3 separate regions of the Homo sapiens genome follow, and all the other regions are linked to region 1. The links are contacts of gene promoters, found by promoter capture Hi-C in blood cells and fetal thymus (Javierre and others, 2016). All regions are on one chromosome and are shown on one strand. The core of a region is centred on a gene start or on the middle of the fragment in contact, and the rest is flanking DNA. Distances in the headings are between cores, read along the strand shown. Region 1 holds the start of PDZD8 (PDZ domain containing 8). Region 2 overlaps TIAL1 (TIA1 cytotoxic granule associated RNA binding protein like 1). Region 3 has its middle 5.4 kb from the start of INPP5F.

The links. The method cuts DNA at HindIII sites, captures the fragments that hold promoters and counts their contacts. A CHiCAGO score of 5 or more calls a contact.
Region 2: a fragment that was not itself captured here is called in contact with the fragment with the promoter of PDZD8 in region 1 in 1 of 17 cell types (neutrophils); the score reaches 5.2 in neutrophils.
Region 3: a fragment that was not itself captured here is called in contact with the fragment with the promoter of PDZD8 in region 1 in 1 of 17 cell types (neutrophils); the score reaches 5.4 in neutrophils.

What each region holds. Positions count from the first base shown.
Region 1 is chr10:117,373,272-117,376,870 of GRCh38, forward strand. PDZD8 (PDZ domain containing 8) reads right to left here and starts at 2,169. Exons shown (of 5, transcript NM_173791.5): 1 at 1,085-2,169. The coding sequence starts at 1,956. RefSeq lists silencers at 1,660-1,839, 1,940-2,259 and an enhancer at 2,490-2,609. The HindIII fragment of the contact is 15,008 bases long and covers 1-3,599 here.
Region 2 is chr10:119,586,136-119,589,868 of GRCh38, forward strand. It overlaps TIAL1 (TIA1 cytotoxic granule associated RNA binding protein like 1), which reads right to left. Exons shown (of 12, transcript NM_003252.4): 2 at 2,017-2,113. Among named protein-coding and RNA genes, the nearest start is that of TIAL1, 9.0 kb to the right of the region's middle. The HindIII fragment of the contact is 3,493 bases long and covers 413-3,733 here.
Region 3 is chr10:119,718,950-119,722,277 of GRCh38, forward strand. No RefSeq gene overlaps it. Among named protein-coding and RNA genes, the nearest start is that of INPP5F, 5.4 kb to the right of the region's middle. RefSeq lists an enhancer at 2,409-3,297. The HindIII fragment of the contact is 8,129 bases long and covers 1-3,328 here.

The sequences.
Region 1 (3,599 bases), core at 919-3,418:
AGCATTAAAATACAATTTGTACAGTGACTTCAGGTCCCTTGAGAGAAGAACTTACAGTCACAGAGAGTAAATGCTTGATGGGCAGAGTCTGGATCTGTGTTCTACAATCTACCCAAAATGGGCAAATGACATTAATACAAAATGTAAAGTACACTATGTACAGGCTCCCAACTCCTTTCCCATCTGCTGTGGAAAGTATTCCCGGGCCGGGCGCGGTGGTTCACTCCTGTAATCCTAACACTTTGGGAGGCCGAGGCAGGCGGATTACTTGAGGTCAGGAGTTCGAAACCAGCCTGGCCAATACGGTGAAACTCCGTCTCTACTAAAAAATACAAAAAAAAAAAAAAAAAAAAAAAAAATCAGCAAGGCGTGGTGCCATACGCCTGTAACCCCAGCTACCTGGGAGGCTGAGGCAGGAGAATCGCTCGAACCTGGGAGGCAGAGGTTGCAGTAAGCCGAGATCGCGCCACTGTACTCCAGCCTGGGCGACACAGCAAGACTCTGTCTCAAAAACAAAAACAAAAAAAACCCACAAAAGTATTCCTTTGCAAGAGTTACCACCTCTGCCTTGAAAGGTGTCAAACCATCAAAGCAAAAGTGGCTTGCAATGTCAAATTAGCACAGACCTGGGCTATAAGCACACTCTTCACGCGTGTACTGTGTCCAGGAACAATTTCTCAAAGCGGCCAAGGGGATGCTGCAAAGCCAGTGACGCGGCTGCCCTCAATGCAGCAACCACATAGAGGGAGAGTTTCTCAACAGTCCCAGAAGCGACTCCTGGGGATTAGGGTAGGCTTCCCTTCCATTTCCAATATGCTGCTTATAAAAGGAGACGATTCTGCCCGCGTTGACAGCACCCTGAGTCCCCATGAACACGCGAAAAGGTTTCTAGCTCCTATCAATGCCGTTCGGAAGCAAAGCAAGTGTTCACGACTCGCCTTGATCTGGGGCCCTGTCCAGGGTGGGAAGGCCCCAGAAGCAGGCGCCAGGACAGAAATGAGCCTTTGCCCTTCCCAATCCACGCAGCGTCCCGCCCAGGCCCGGGTTCCCGGCAGCCAGGCCCCCTCCCCGACCTCCAGCTCACCTGATCTTGTAATTCGGTAGGGTGTGCTTGCGCTTGATGATCTTCTTGAGCTGGTTGACGATGATGGAGGTGAGCTGGGGCATGGGCCGCCCTTCAAACTGGGAGCGCACCTCGAAGTCGATCAGCGGGTCTTCCACGAAGGAGAAGAACCAGTGGGTGAAGGGCACGCGCGTAAAGACCAAGCGCAGCCTTCCCACCACGCGGGACAGCTTGACAAACAAGTAGGCGGACTTGCCGAAGACCAGGTCCACGTCGATGGCCAGGTGGAAGCCCCCGTTGTACTCCACCTCCGCCTCGAAGGCCAGCTCCTCGGGGCAGGCGGCGGGCAGCGCCTCCCCTTCAGGGCCATCGGGCTCCCCGGTGGCCGAGGGCACGACTGGCCGCACGAGCCGGATGGTCTTGATGAAGGGCACCGTCTCGCCCAGGAACACGTCCCGCAGGCTCAGCCCCTCCAGCAGGCGCCCGGCCGTCTTGGTCTGCAGCAGCTCCTCGAACTCCACCTTGATCTTCTTGGTGACCCAGCGGCGGGTCAGCGCGGTGTCCCGCAACTCCCGGAACAGGAATAGGATGGTGGCGTTGAGGAAGTAGCAAGTCTCCCGCGTCGGCGGGGCGGGGGTCTCGGGGGCCGCGGTGGGGGTCGCGCCGCCCTCAGGGGCCGCTCCGGAGGGCTCCTCATCCCGGCCGCCGCCATAAAGGTACTCCCTTAGGAGCAGGCCCGGCACTGGCTTGATGTAGCGGAAGCCCTCGCCCGCGCGGGCGGCCTCGTCCGCCGGCGGCTCGGGCTGTCTGCGGTACAGCAGGAAGAACTGGGCGAGGAGCGTGAGGAAGGAACCCAGCACGGCCGACGCCAGGATCATGAGCAGCAGCCCCATCCCGCCACCGCCTCCGCCCGGGCCCCTACTCCCGCGCCCACAGCGCCGCTTTCTTCACGCCGCCGCCCCCGCTGCCTCCATTTTGAGGACATCGGGCGGCTGGGTCGGGGCGAGCGGCTCCGTGGGCCTCGTCCAGGGGCTCGGGCCGGCGCGCTGCGGCGCCCGAGCCCGCAGCGGCCCGCGCCTCCTCAGACGCTCCCGAAGGGCCGGTGTGGCGGCGGCGGCAGCGGGGCCGGGACCGGCGCCTCCCTCAGGCCTCCACTCATTGGACGAGCAGCGCGTGACGTCAGAGGCGTGCTCGCTCCCGGCGGCGTCGCCCAGCAGTCGGCGCCCGGGCACGCGGACGCGGGTCCTCCTTTACTTCTCTGCGGCCCTTCCAACCTCGTCCCCCCACGCCAACATTCCAATCCCCGCGGCGCGCGCCGCCACCCACGTGGCCGTCACTTCTGGAGCTGCGGTCGGGATCTGGGAGGACGGCTGGGGACGCGGGCTGGAGGATAAGGCGGTCCGGCGGAGCGGGCCTGACGCGTTCCGGATGCCGGCCATCCCGTTATCCTCGGCTGCGCCCATCCCCCGTCTCTGGCCGCAGTCCCCGCGGTTACCTCTGCAGCGGCGTCGCTCATCCTGCGGTGTGCTTCTTCCACTCGCACCCGTGACAGCCCGGCTGGCAGCGGCGCTTTCCCTGCGGGCAGCACCGCAGACGATCCGAGCGGGCCTTTCGGACGCTTCCCAAGCCCACGGCGAGAGGGGACCGACTGCCTCAGAGGCAGCCATCGCGGACCTGCCGTCCCCCCGGCAGACGCTCTGCGTCCGCGGAGGGTGGGCCCTGGGAAGGAGGGACGCAGGGAAAGGGCGCGCCACGCGGAATGACTTTCCCACCGAGGTGGATCTTCGAAATTTCAGGGAGGAGGAAGTTGAAAGAACAGCCAGGAGGAGAGATGCATAGTGAAACGAGTTTGCCAAGTGATTGGAAGATTAATATGCGACCCGCTGTCAGTCTCTGGTTAAGCCGGTAGTCCATCTATGAGGCAGTTATTCACTGTTAGCCCCCACCCACTTGACAGATGCCAACACTGGTGCAGAGAGCGTGGGGAGGTTGCGTGGGGCCGCAGAGTGGAGCCTGGTTTATCTAACACTAAACCCTAATGTCTTGATCACTACTCTCTGCCCTAACACAGAAACTGCTTCAGTTGTAAGCAGGCCAGTGGGTTCCCTAATGTTCAGGAAGGGAGAATTGGGGAGGCGGATTAGGGAAGACGGCAAGGAATTTTGCATAGAGTAGCACCTTAACCAAAGCCACGAAGCTAAGCCAGGTTGCCCAGCAACAGCGTTACTCCTCCTGCCCTCTGACTACTTAGTGGTTACATCATAAATGCTTATCCCTCCAAGCACGTGGAGTTCCAGTCCTGCAGGAGTCAGATATCCCATACCTTAAAGGCCGATTCTGGCTGTACCTAAGGAGCCAGGGCAGGGCTCCTCTCTAGCCCTTGAAAACCTTCAAGCCGGCCGGGCGTGGTGGCTCACGCCTGTAATCCCAGCACTTTGGGAGGCCGAGGCGGGCAGATCACGAGGTCAAGAGATCGAGACCAGCCTGGCCAACATGGTGAAACCCGTCTATACTAAAAATACAAAAATTAACCGGT
Region 2 (3,733 bases), core at 909-3,408, 2.2 Mb after region 1:
CTAATCTAACGTCCACTTTGATGTCTAATTCATGTCTTAAATCTAACATCCAAAACACAATTTCTGATTCCCACCACTCCCCATGGTGACATCCATCAGGTCACCCCCACTTTAGCAAATAAATAGCATTACCAACTATACAACTGCATTAACATGAATCTTAGGGTATTTCCTGATTTCTTCCTTTCCCTATGTCCCACAGCCAACCCAGTCCTATCAATTCTACCTCCAAAATATATTCCAAATCTATCAACCTCTGTCCTTATCTTGACTTCGGCTAGCACTTTCGAGAATAAGCCTCCATCATCTCTTACCTAGACTAGTGAAGTAAATCCAGATGGTTTTTCTCCTTCTGCTCTTGCCCGCTACAATCTATTCTCCATAAAACAGTCATTCTCTACATAGAGTAGTAAGCTTAAATATGCAAATCTTGGCACCTCATCCCCCTGCTTAAGCCCCTCCACTGGTCTGCCACAGCAATCAGAGTAAAACCTAAACTATGTCATGGACCATAATGTCCTGTGATTCTGAATCCTGCTGTTAGACTCATTTCCCTTAACTCCCCTCCATCCCTCACCAGACTCTAGCCATCGGTCTTTGATTCCACAAACACAAGTTCATTACCAACTCAAGACTTGTATTTGCTGTTTCCTCTGCCTCCAGCTCTTACCATAGATAGCACCATCTTGTTATTCATCTCAGCTCAAAGAGGTGACATCTCTCATCACCTAGCCTATATAGCACCAACCCTCCAATCATCACAGAACTCTGTTTTATTCTCTTCATGGCTTACATCCCTATTTGCTTGGGAAACTCATTTGGCTGTCTCTCCATTATATCTCCAGTACCTTGTATAGTGCCTAGTGCAAAGGAAATTTTTGATCGATGAAAGCACAAATAAATAATTAAAGGCAGGAAGGAAAAATATAATACACCAGAACAAAATGATGATTGTCATTACTTGGGAAAGACAATCAAAAGGCCAATGCACTTTAAAGGTTTTTAACAGTTCTCCGTTTCAGGATAAAACAAACTCTTTAGCACAGTTTCTAGCCCTTTCCATAAACTCCTGCCATCTCTTACGACTAATTCCATTTTAACTACAACCATGCTACGGGTTCTATTTTTCCCTCTCTGTCTCAAGCACTCCTGCTCTCCCTACCAACCTGGATCAAAGTTCCCTTTATTTGGAATCCCTTCTTCCCTCAATTCCTTTCTAGCCAGTATGTACTACTATCCTTTCAAGGTTTCCGCCTAGGCAGTGAGTCCTCCAAGAAGCCGCTCACTGACCTAAGGCTGCACTGGATACACATTTGCTCCCACAGCACTTTAAGTTGTCTGCTTCTAGAGCATTTATTATCCTACTTCCTAAGTGCCTGCTAACTCCTTTGTCTCCCTACTAAACTGTAAAATTCTCTGGGCCAAGGAACTATCTTTATTCACCAGTGTATCTCTAGCACTTACTGCAGTATCTAGTACATAGGAAATAGTCCAAAAAAAAAAAAGAAAGCTGATCAATGAACAAAAACACAAGGAAGAAAAGCCTAAAACATGACTAATTGGGTGCTGCTACAGTCTTAGCAGGAAAGTATAAAAAGGTAAGTATTTGCTACAGACACACGAGACGAACGGTGCTGCACACTACACACATAATAACTTCGTGTTCTCGCACATGAACACATGCTGTCTAAATCGTTAACATTCTTATTGGAATTGTATGAAATACTTTCCAATTTTTCACCATTCTGAAATGAGCTCTAATAATGTTCTGAAAGCAGAATCACTTCAAGATAACCACACCATGAAGAATGACCGTTTGAGCTTAACAGCACGGAAACTTTGCCCTCTTAAATAAAACTCCATTCTAAGCCTAGTTTGTCAGCCAAATCAAAGTAATAAGTCAACACAACACAAATCTCTCCACCAGAATAACTTGAGGCTTACAATGAAATTTTAAAATCATGCTAATCAACCCATCATGCTAATTGTCAGCACATGGAACTGGGAAGATCTTACCTCTGTTATCATTTTACAGCTTTTACAGGGTCCAATCTGACTGAACAACTGAAGTATAAGGACTTCTGTCACATCTCTGGAAAGGTTACCTACGTATCTGCACAAGAAAAAAATACGTTATCAGCAATTTTTCCTTTAGCTCTGGCTCTAATGTGTTATCATCTAATTCATCACCTTTTCTTTCTTTCTTTCTTTCTTTCTTTTTTTTTTAGATGGAGTTTTGCTCTTGTTGCCCAGGCTGGAGTGCAATGGCATGATCTCAGCTCACTGCAACTTCCGCCTCCCAGATTCAAACGATTTTCCTGTCTCAGCCTCCCAAGTAGCTGGGATTACAGGCGCATGCCACCATGCCTGGCTAATTTTTGTATTCTTAGTAGAGACAGGGTTTCATCGTATTGGTCAGGCTGGTCTTGAACTCCTGACCTCAGGTGATCTGTCCGCCTTGGCCTCCCAAAGTGCTGGAATTACAAGCGTGAGCCACTGCGCCCGGCCACCTTTTATTTCATTTTAACTTCCTCTGTTTTCAACAAAATTTCTCCAATTAAACCTGATCCTATGAAAGTAAGATTAACCCTTATTTAGGAAAGCAACAATTGTTCTTAGGCCACTAAAATACCACTCTGAAAGACATTTAAAGAACAAATCAATGTGATCTTGTATACCCCAATGGCATTATTATTCTGTACCCTGGATATCATTTTCTCATCTTATTCTAATTGTTAAAATTTTAAACTGGTCTCAAGATAACTACAATTTCTAATTAAAAATAATTTATAACACACACACACATACAACAAATACTAATTCATTAAAACATCTGATTGTAATAGGATATTAAACATAAAGTGAGTTTATCTTAGATTCCCAACCAAAGCAATTACATGAACAAAGAACAGAATTAAAGTTATAGTAAAACATACAGAGGGTGGAGGGTTTTTGTTGTTTTGTTTTTGGCTGAGTAAGGTTGTTTGCAATGATGTCTTCACTGTTTCATTTTAGGAGAGCAGGGTAAAATATAAAATTTCCTAGTCTAAAATGCATCAGAATCAACAAAATATATATGTATTTTTTTGAGATGGAGTCTCACTCTGTCACCCAGGCTGGAGTGCAGTGGCATGATCTCAGCTCACTGCAACCTCCGCCTCCCAGGTTCAAGCGATTCTCCTGCCTCAGCCTCCCAGGTAGCTGGGACTACAGGCGTGCACCACCACGCCCGGCTAATTTTTGTATTTTTAGTAGAGACGGGGTTTCACCATGTTGGCCTGGCTGGTCTCAAACTCCTAACCTCAAGTGATCCACCTGCCTGAGTCTCCCAAAGTGCTGGGATTACAGGAGTGAGCCACCATGCCCAGCCAACAAAATATATCTTAATGTAGATAAAAAAGCTAATACAAAGATTTCTTAAGAAATTCAGAGAAAAACTAAGACAAATCCAGGCATACTTTTGACTATGGACACTTAAAAATTTGGGTTTTTTTTCCTAATTACAATTGAATGTGTTTTGTGTAAAAGATTTTAAATACAGGAAAGTTTAAAAAAGAAAAGAAAAAAATGCTACTTCATCACACAGAGAGGACCACCTTGGTTTATGTCTTGTACTATGGATTTATCTTAATTTATCTAAATAAATTGCCAAACACTAAAGTCTTTCTGGTATTCTACACATAATTCCTCAAATTTGCATCTGTTATGAACAACCTCATAAACCAAACAATAT
Region 3 (3,328 bases), core at 279-2,778, 2.3 Mb after region 1:
GGCTGGTCTCAAACTTCTGACCTCAGGTGATCCACCCACCTCGGCCTCCCAAAGTGCTGGGATTACAGGTGTAAGCTACCGCACCTGGCCTAAATTTTCTTTTCTTTCCTTTTTTTTCTTTTGAGACGGAGTTTCGCTTTTGTTGCCCAGGCTGGAGTACAATGGTGCGATCTTGGCTCACTGCAACCTCCGCCTCCCGGGTTCAAGCGATTCTCCTGTCTCAGCCTCCTGAGTAGCTGGGATTATAGGCACCTGCCACTACGCACTGCTAATTTTTGGTATTTTTAGTGGAGATGGGGTTTCACCATGTTGGCCAGGCTGGTCTTGAACTCATGACCTCAGGTGAGCTGCCCGCCTCAGCCTCCCAAAGTGCTGGGATTACAGGCATGAGCCACCACGCCCGGCCACCCCATTTTTTTTTTTTTTTTTTTTTTCGAGACTGGGTCTCACTCCTCGCTCTCCTGCCCAGGCTAGAGTGCAGTGGCTCAATCATAGCTCATGGTAGCCTTGAACTCTTGGGTTCAAGTGATCCTCCCATCTCAGCCTCCTGAGTAGGTCCTTGACAATTTTATCAGGCCGTACAATTAAAAAGCCAGTAATTATTAACCCCCAAAGTAAAGAAGTGAAAAAAGGGTGGTCTTCTACATTAAATAAAAGGGCCTCTTTTAGGCCAACATGACAGTCTCCTCATGAGGGACTTTCCTTTTTCTTGGTCTGTGGTGCTTCTCAACTATTTTATCTTATTTTATTTTATTTTATTTTATAGACAGTCTCGCTATGTCACCCAGGCTGGAATACAGTGGCGCCACCTCGGCTCACTGCCACCTCCGCCTCCCAGGTTCAAGTGATTCTCCTGCCTCAGCCTCCCGAGTAGCTGGGATTACAGGCGCCCACCACCACGCATGTCTAATTTTTGTATTTTTAGTAGAGACAGGGTTTCACCATGTTGGCCAGGCTGGTCCTTGAACTCTGGCATCAAGTGATCCGCCTGCCTTGGCCTCCCAAAGTGCTGGAATTACAGGTGTGAGCCACTTTGCCCAGCCTGAAGAACTTTATATATGTCAAAGTGCTCCAACAGTACAATTTCCAGCCATCCTTGATGAAGTTATGTGAGGAGGTAGCATTAAGTTTGCTGGGTGATAAATCCATAAGAAATTGGCTGTTGATTGGCCAAACGTAAAAATTTGGCTTGTGTTTTAAGTCTGTTTGGGCTAACAAAAAAATACTATAGGCTGGGTGACTTATAAACAACAGAATTTTTTTTTTTTTTTCCCAACAGTTCTGAAGGCTGGGAAGTTCAAGATCAAGGCACTGGTAGATTCAGTGTCTGGTGAGGGCCTGCTCTCTGGTTCTTAGACGAACATCTGTTTCCTCGAGATGCCCTCATGTGGTGGAAGGGGCAAGGGACCTTGCTGGGGTCTCTTATAAGTGCTCTAATGAGCTAATTACTTTCCAAAGGCCCTCTCTCCTAATACTATCACCTTACAGGTTAGGATTTCAACATACAAATTTTGGGAAAGCAGTCAATTGCATTCTGCCCTCATGTTTCTCCAGAGAAACAGAAACAATATATATGCATATACAGAAGAAAATTTATGATGAGGGATTGGCTCATGAGATTATGGAGGTTGAGAAGTCCCAGTCTACCTTCTGCAAGCTGGAGAACCAGGAAAGCCTGTGGTATAGTTCCAGTCCAAACCTAAAGGCCTAAGAACCAGGGAGGTCAATCTGGGTCTGAGAGCCCAGAACTATATCTGCTCAGATATCTGCAGGCAGGAGGGATGAATAACCGGGTTCAATGGGGAACACATTTGTTCTTCCACCTTTTTGTTCTATTCTTGTCCTTAAGGATTGGATGACCACCATATAGATGAGGGCAGTCTTCTTTACTTAGTCTACCAATTCAAATGCTAATCTCTTCCGGAAACACCCTCACACACACATATCCAGGAATAGTGTTTTACCAGCTTTCTGAGTAGCTCTTAGCCTAGTCATGTTGACACATAAAATTCACCATCACAGCTTGTGAGTGTTTTGGGCCCTTAACCCTAAAGTTAAGCCACCTGTCAGACCTGCAATCCCGGCACTTTGGGAGGCCGAGGCGGGTGGATCATGAGGTCAGGAGTTCAAGACCAGCTTGGCTAACATGGTGAAACTCCATTTCTACTAAAAATACAAAAAATTAGCTGGGCGTGGTGGCACATGCCTGTAATTCCAGTTACTCGGGAGGCTGAGGCAGGAGAATCGCTTGAACCTGGGAGGTGGAGGTTGCAGTGAGCCGAGATCGCGCCAGTGCACTCCAGCTTGGGTAACAAGAGTGAAACTCCATCTCAAAAAAAAAACAAAAAACAAAAAACAAAAAACAGAGCCTGGGCAAGAGAAGGAGACTGTGTCTCAAAAATAAAAAGTACCGCTCCCTCTCCCTCTCCCTCTCCCCACGGTCTCCCTCTCATGTGGAGCCGAAGCTGGACTGTACTGCTGCCATCTCGGCTCACTGCAACCTCCCTGCCTGATTCTCCTGCCTCAGCCTGCCGAGTGCCTGCGATTGCAGGCACGCGCCGCCACGCCTGACTGGTTTTGGTGGAGACGGGGTTTCGCTGTGTTGGCCGGGCCGGTCTCCAGCCCCTAACCGCGAGTGATCCACCAGCCTCGGCCTCCCGAGGTGCCGGGATTGCAGACGGAGTCTCGTTCACTCAGTGCTCAATGGTGCCCAGGCTGGAGTGCAGTGGCATGATCTCGGCTCGCTACAACCTCCACCTCCCAGCCGCCTGCCTTGGCCTCCCAAAGTGCTGAGATTGCAGCCTCTGCCCGGCCGCCACCCCGTCTGGGAAGCGAGGAGTGTCTCTGCCTGGCCGCCCATCGTCTGGGATGTGAGGAGCCCCTCTGCCTGGCTGCCCAGTCTGGAAAGTGAGGGGCGTCTCCGCCCGGCCGCCATCCCATCTAGGAAGTGAGGAGCGCCTCTTCCCAGCCGCCATCACATCTGGGAAGTGAGGAGCGTCTCTGCCCGGCCGCCCATCGTCTGAGATGTGGGGAGCGCCTCTGCCCCGCCGCCCCATCTGGGATGTGAGGAGCGCCTCTGCCCAGCCGCGACCCTGTCTGGGAGGTGAGGAGCGTCTCTGCCCGGCCGCCCCGTCTGAGAAGTGAGGAGACCCTCTGCCTGGCAACCACCCCATCTGAGAAGTGAGGAGCCCCTCCACCGGGCAGCTGCCCCGTCTGAGAAGTGAGGAGCCTCTCCGCCCGGCAGCCACCCCATCTGGGAAGTGAGGAGCGTCTCCGCCCGGCAGCCACCCCGTCCGGGAGGGAGGTGGGGGGGGTCAGCCCCCCGCCC